Linked DNA regions of Homo sapiens: region 2 is linked to region 1. Evidence: promoter capture Hi-C in 16 types of primary human blood cells and fetal thymus (Javierre and others, 2016). All regions are on one chromosome and are shown on one strand. Each heading gives the region's core, a stretch centred on a gene start or on the middle of the fragment in contact. The rest is flanking DNA. Distances are from core to core; before and after follow the strand shown. Region 1 holds the start of SMG1 (SMG1 nonsense mediated mRNA decay associated PI3K related kinase). Region 2 overlaps SMG1 (SMG1 nonsense mediated mRNA decay associated PI3K related kinase).

Region 1 (2,700 bases), core at 159-2,658:
CCATGAATCAATTACCCCTAAAATATATTTCTGTATATTTAAGGAGTTCTAAGCATTGGGTTAAATTCCAAACAGACTCTGAATACAAGCATTTATTAAGAGAGATTAGAATAAATCAGTCCTAAATTAGGCACAGCTGCCCTCCCATTGATCAAAAAGACAGGAAACTACATTTATTTAAAAAGTTAATGTTCCTAATATATTCAAATCTCACTAAGCCCCAAAACGGTCTGAGATCAAATCCTCCATAAATGAGGAAATTCTCTAGACTTCTAAGTGGGTGCCCAAAGAGTTCACTCAAGTGTCCAGGTATGAATTACGATTCACCAGAGTAACCGGCCTTGCACTTAGGGAAAACTTCCATCGCCCAAGACCAGCGTGGGTCGATCCCATCAACAGTCACACAATCTCATCTCATGCTCCACTAATGAATGTTCTGCCTAGAGTCAGAGCAATGCCTTAGCTGGAGTTTTGTTTTGTTTTTTTCAATATTAACACGTGGGGGTCACAGAAAGGAACAGAGGTTAGAAGAGCTCTCACGTGGCGGCTGAAAGAGTGGGGAACCGAGAAAGTGAATGAGTAACAGGGAGGGTCCTGGACTCTCAGCATCTCCCAACTCGGGGTCAGGGGGAGGCTGTAACTGGAATGCCCCCCACCCCCACCCCCGCCTCTTTCTCACCTCCTGGTCCCGACCCCAGGCCAGTGCCACCGCCGGGAGCCCCGGGTCTCGGCTCCAGCCCCGGGCTGAACAAGCAGGGAGGGGAGGCACTTAGGCCTCGCCTCCCCGCGGCCTTCCTCCCCCAGCCGGGGCGGAGGAGACCCAGGAAGCCGCGCCCGGCTCCGAGGGGTGGAGGGCCTAGGCCGCGCCTCCCAGCCCCGCGGCCCTAGGCCTCGGCCCGCCCGAGGCGGAGCCCGGGAGGTCGGGGCGGGGTCCCGGGCCGGTCACCCACCTGGGTTGCCAGTCATTCCAGCTCCGCGGATACTTGGTGCCGCCGCCGCCGCCGCCGCTGCTCAGCCGAGACCCCGGGGCTCTGCGGCTCATTACCTTCCCCGACACGACATGGCCAAGCGCCGCCGCCCAAAGAAGCGCGAGTCGCCGCCCGAACCGGCCGCCGCCGACACCCCGCTCCGGCCCGGGGCTGAGGAGGAAGCCGAGAAGGAGGAGGAGGAGGAGGAGGAGGAGAAGGAGGAGGCGGCGGAGGGCGGGGGAAGAGGACGGCCGTTCCGGGTTCCGCCTGAGCCCGCAGCGCAGGACGAGGAGGCGGGAGCGGCGCGGTGAGAGAGAGGCGGATGAAGGGGAGGCGACGTCTTTTCCAGGGCCGTGCGCGGCCCACGTCGCCGGGGCCCCGGAGGACGAGGACGACGAGGAGCAGGCGGTGGCGGCAGCTCCTCACGCTCACACGGCCACTGCTTCCCCGCCTCCCGGCTCCGCCCGCCGCGCCGCCGCTGTCGCACGGCATGCTGGGAGCGAGGGGCGGGGTTGGCGCCCGCCGGGCCTGGGGAGAGAGGCGGGTCCTGTCGGCGGGGCGGAGCCGAGAGAGGCGGGGTCGATAGCAGGCCGCCCCGCCCCCCACGTCCCCAGGCCCTTGGGCGGCGAAGAGGTCTGGGCGTAGCGGTGACGAATCCTAAGACAGGGGATCTCCACTACTGCGGCCACACACTTTTCTCCCAAACGCTTCCCGGAAAGCACCGGAGGGCCGGGCAGTCAGGTGTAAACAGGCGTCCAATCAAGGACCTGCGGTGTGGGTGGGGGCTGGTGCCCTGCGGTGCGCGCGCACACAGGCGTGCCCTTGGATTCACGTGCGCCAGTTTTCCCACTTTCTACGGGGTGGGGTGGAAAGTGAAAATAGTAAGATCGAGAGGTGGATATCCACCTTCCCAACCTCCACCTGAAATGTGCCCATCGAGTCCTGGCACCTTTTACCATTTCTTCACAATGAAAAAAACTAAACGATGGAAGGGAAGGGAGTACCCACGATCACCAAACCCTGTCCTCTGCAATGTGAAATGTGCTTTGAAGTCCTTTCACCCTGAGGCTTGCCCGCCTTCTGCTGGTGAAAGAAGCTGGGGGCTAGGCGCGGTGGATCACGCCTGTAATCCCAGCACTTTCGGAGGCCGAGGTGGGCGGATCGTCTGAGGTGAGGAGTTCCCGACCAGCCTAGCCAACATGGAGAAACCCCGCCTCTACTAAAAATACAAAAATTAGCCGGGCATGGTGGAGGGCGCCTGTAATCCCAGCTACTTGGGAGGCTGAGGCAGGGGAATCGCTTGAACCCAGCAGGCCGAGGTTGCAGTGAGCCGAGATCAGACCATTGCAGTCCAGCCTGGACAACAAGAGTGAAACTCTGTCTCAAAAAAATAAAAGAGAGAGAGAAAGGAGGGAGGGAAGAAAAAGGAAGGAAGGAAGGGAGGAAGGAAGGAAAGGAAAGGAAAGGAAAGGAAAAAAGAAAAGAAAGAGAGAAGGCCGGGCGTGGTGGATCACGTCTGTAATCCCAGCACTTTGGGAGGCCGAGGCGGGCGGATCACGAGGTCAGGAGATCGAGACCATCCTGGCTAACACGGTGAAACCCCGTCTCTACTAAAAATACAAAAAATTAGCCGGGCGTGGTGGCGGGTGCCTGTAGTCCCAGCTACTCCTGAGGCTGAGGCAGGAGAATGGCGTGAACCCGGGAAGCGGAGCTCACAGTGAGCAGAGATGGC
Region 2 (2,703 bases), core at 46-2,545, 95 kb before region 1:
TTATTAGGCCGGGCGCGGTGGCTCACGCCTGTAATCCAGCACTTTGGCAGGCCGAGGTGGGCAGATCACCTGAGGTCAGGAGTTCAAGACCAGCCTGACCAACATGGAGAAACCCCGTCTCTACTAAAAATACAAAAAAATCAGCCGAGTGTGATGGTGGGCACCTGTAGTCCCAGCTACTCAGGAGGCTGAGGCTAGGAGAATCGCTTGAACCTAGGAGGCGGAGGTTGCCTAGGAGGCCAAGATCGCGCCATTACACTCCAGTCTGGGCAACAAGAGCGAAACTCCATCTCAAAAAAAAAGAAGGAATGTTATGATGATAAAATGGTATTTCATGTCAACCACAATAGGATTTCAATGATTCCAATTCGTTATTAATGACTGTTATGTGATTAAATTTTATGCAAACTTCAGTGATCAGTCTCATTTTTACACACAAAATATGAAATAATTTAAAATCCTGTATTGAAAAATGTCAGAAATCACACCATTCTAAAGCTGGCGGACCTAGTAAATTGTCAGGTATGTTCGCACTATTACTACAAGATACGATACAACCAAGTATACTTGCTATTTTGGGTATGCTTGGTTTTTATTTATGCACATTTTGAATGTAAGGTCTTCAGAAATTCACCCCTCACATTACCATTAAGACTTACATAGTGCTTATGTATCCAGGCACTATTTCTTATCACACACACACACAGAAACCATTCCAAATGGCTGGAACTATTAAGAATTTTTAAGAGAATTAAAAATGTTAAACTACCAGATAAATTTCTAATGGAAAAAGAGCTGTAAGATGGTATGAGATTTTCCTTGAGATTACCCAAAAAAAGCTTCTCTGAAACAAGGCACAGACAGGCTGCCATAGATCCAGGCACAAAGTTTGTTACCCAAAGTACACATTTAGGTAAACATTCCTCTGTATGAGGATAAGGGGAACCCAGATAAGATATTAAGAGAGATAAAATGAAGTCTGAAATTCAGTGCAAAACAAAGATGTACAGATCTAGCATTTAACTTTTTAAATACTGCTAAAAATTATATGATAAAGCTGTTCTATAAATAATCTAATATTTATGCTATTAATGATTATACTTTTTCTAGCCGGGCATGGGGGCATACGTCCATAGTCCCAGCTACTAGGGAGGCTGAGCCAGGAGAATCTCTTGAACCCGGGAGATGGAGGCTGCAGCGAGCCGAGATCGCACCATTGCACTCCAGCCTAGCGACACAGCAAGACTCCATCTCAAAAAAAAAAAAAAAAATACATATATATATATATATACACACACACGTACATATTTATGAATATATATGAATATATTTATTATTTTATGAATATAACCACTCCAAAGAAACATGAGAAACAGGAAATTTCTGAATGCAGGATAATTAACATTAAGGAATTATTGCTACTTTTTTCATGAAATAATGGCACCACAGTCAAGAAAAATAAGATTACATATATATGTATACTTTCTGCATTATTAATATTTAAGAATGAAAAAATATTTGCTTCTAAATAACTAGGGTAGTAAATTTAAACCAGACTAGCCCAGTGCAGATAATTACCAAAGGTGGTGGCAGGGGGTTCATTAGACTATTCTCTCTACAGTCTTGTATCTTTGAAATTTCCCATGGGAGGAAACGGTGCTACAATTCATTTCTACTCTCTCAATTATACTTCTTCTGTGAATTAGACATTGGAACGCCAAAGAAAAGAGGCCCTGAGTCACTAGGCACAAAGAAGCTTAGGGATTAGCTCTGAGTACAATGCATGTCTGCAGGAACTGCCCAAACTCTACAGATTCCAAAGTCAGATTGCTTTTCTGGACTAATGAGATGAAAAATACAATATCCAATTAGCTAAAACAAACTTACAATATTTAAACTAATTTAAAAGTATTCACCTGAAATGAGGTGTGTACTCTGTTAGCTAAATAAACTGTTTCAGGTGTCTCCAAGGGGTTCTACAAGATGGCTTAAAAATATCATGTTCGACTGTGTGTATGTACATGTACATAACTACAAGCACTAAAAGGATATATGTATGTATGTGACCGAACTATACACTTGCACACACACACACACACACACACACACACACAAATAAGTGCATGTATAACTAGTGAAATCTGAGTAAGCGGTGTGGACTATATCATTGTCGGTTTCATAGTGTTACTATAGATACTAACACTGAAGGAAGGATGAAGCATGCACAATACCTGCCTGCACTTTTTTTTTAAGCAACTTCTCGTGATGTATAATTATTTCAAAATAAAAAAGTTTTAAAAAGATACGTGTATGAGCATTTATAAGTAATTATACCTGCTCTAAAAACTAAAAGTAAACTTACGTTAAAGAGCTCAGAATCCCTTTCTCTGGCTGTCCCATCTCTTTTACAAGGAAACGGCACAGCCAGCATTCACTTGCCTGGCAACATCGATGTAATGAGCATGTGTTTCTTCTTCCAGTCCCATAGCTGCGTTTCTTAAGTAGGCCTGAAGAGATTCCACTAGAGTCTGCAGGGGAACGCCATCGGTGGTCTGCTCAATAAGACCGTCCAGTTCATGCAGCATACTTTCTAACGTGTATTCCCCTTTCATTAAACATCGAAGTGCTTCTGGAAATATGATTTGCCGGAAATTCGAATTCAATTCCTATAAATATATGAGAAAAAAACTTTTAATGTTTTTT

The links. Contacts are between HindIII fragments. The CHiCAGO score rates a contact against its expected background, and 5 or more counts as called.
Region 2: a contact is called between a fragment that was not itself captured here and the fragment with the promoter of SMG1 in region 1, in 2 of 17 cell types (activated CD4 T cells and non-activated CD4 T cells). The highest score is 5.5, in activated CD4 T cells.

What each region holds. Positions count from the first base shown.
Region 1 is chr16:18,925,000-18,927,699 of GRCh38, forward strand. It overlaps SMG1 (SMG1 nonsense mediated mRNA decay associated PI3K related kinase), which reads right to left and starts at 1,409. Exons shown (of 63, transcript NM_015092.5): 1 at 951-1,409. The coding sequence starts at 1,042. It overlaps SMG1-DT (SMG1 divergent transcript), which reads left to right and starts at 1,188. Exons shown (of 2, transcript XR_001752094.2): 1 at 1,188-1,275. RefSeq lists silencers at 631-1,220, 1,251-1,590 and enhancers at 1,276-1,888, 1,889-2,502. The HindIII fragment of the contact is 12,853 bases long and covers 1-2,700 here.
Region 2 is chr16:18,830,501-18,833,203 of GRCh38, forward strand. It overlaps SMG1 (SMG1 nonsense mediated mRNA decay associated PI3K related kinase), which reads right to left. Exons shown (of 63, transcript NM_015092.5): 51 at 2,440-2,666. Among named protein-coding and RNA genes, the nearest start is that of ARL6IP1, 30 kb to the left of the region's middle. The HindIII fragment of the contact is 917 bases long and covers 838-1,754 here.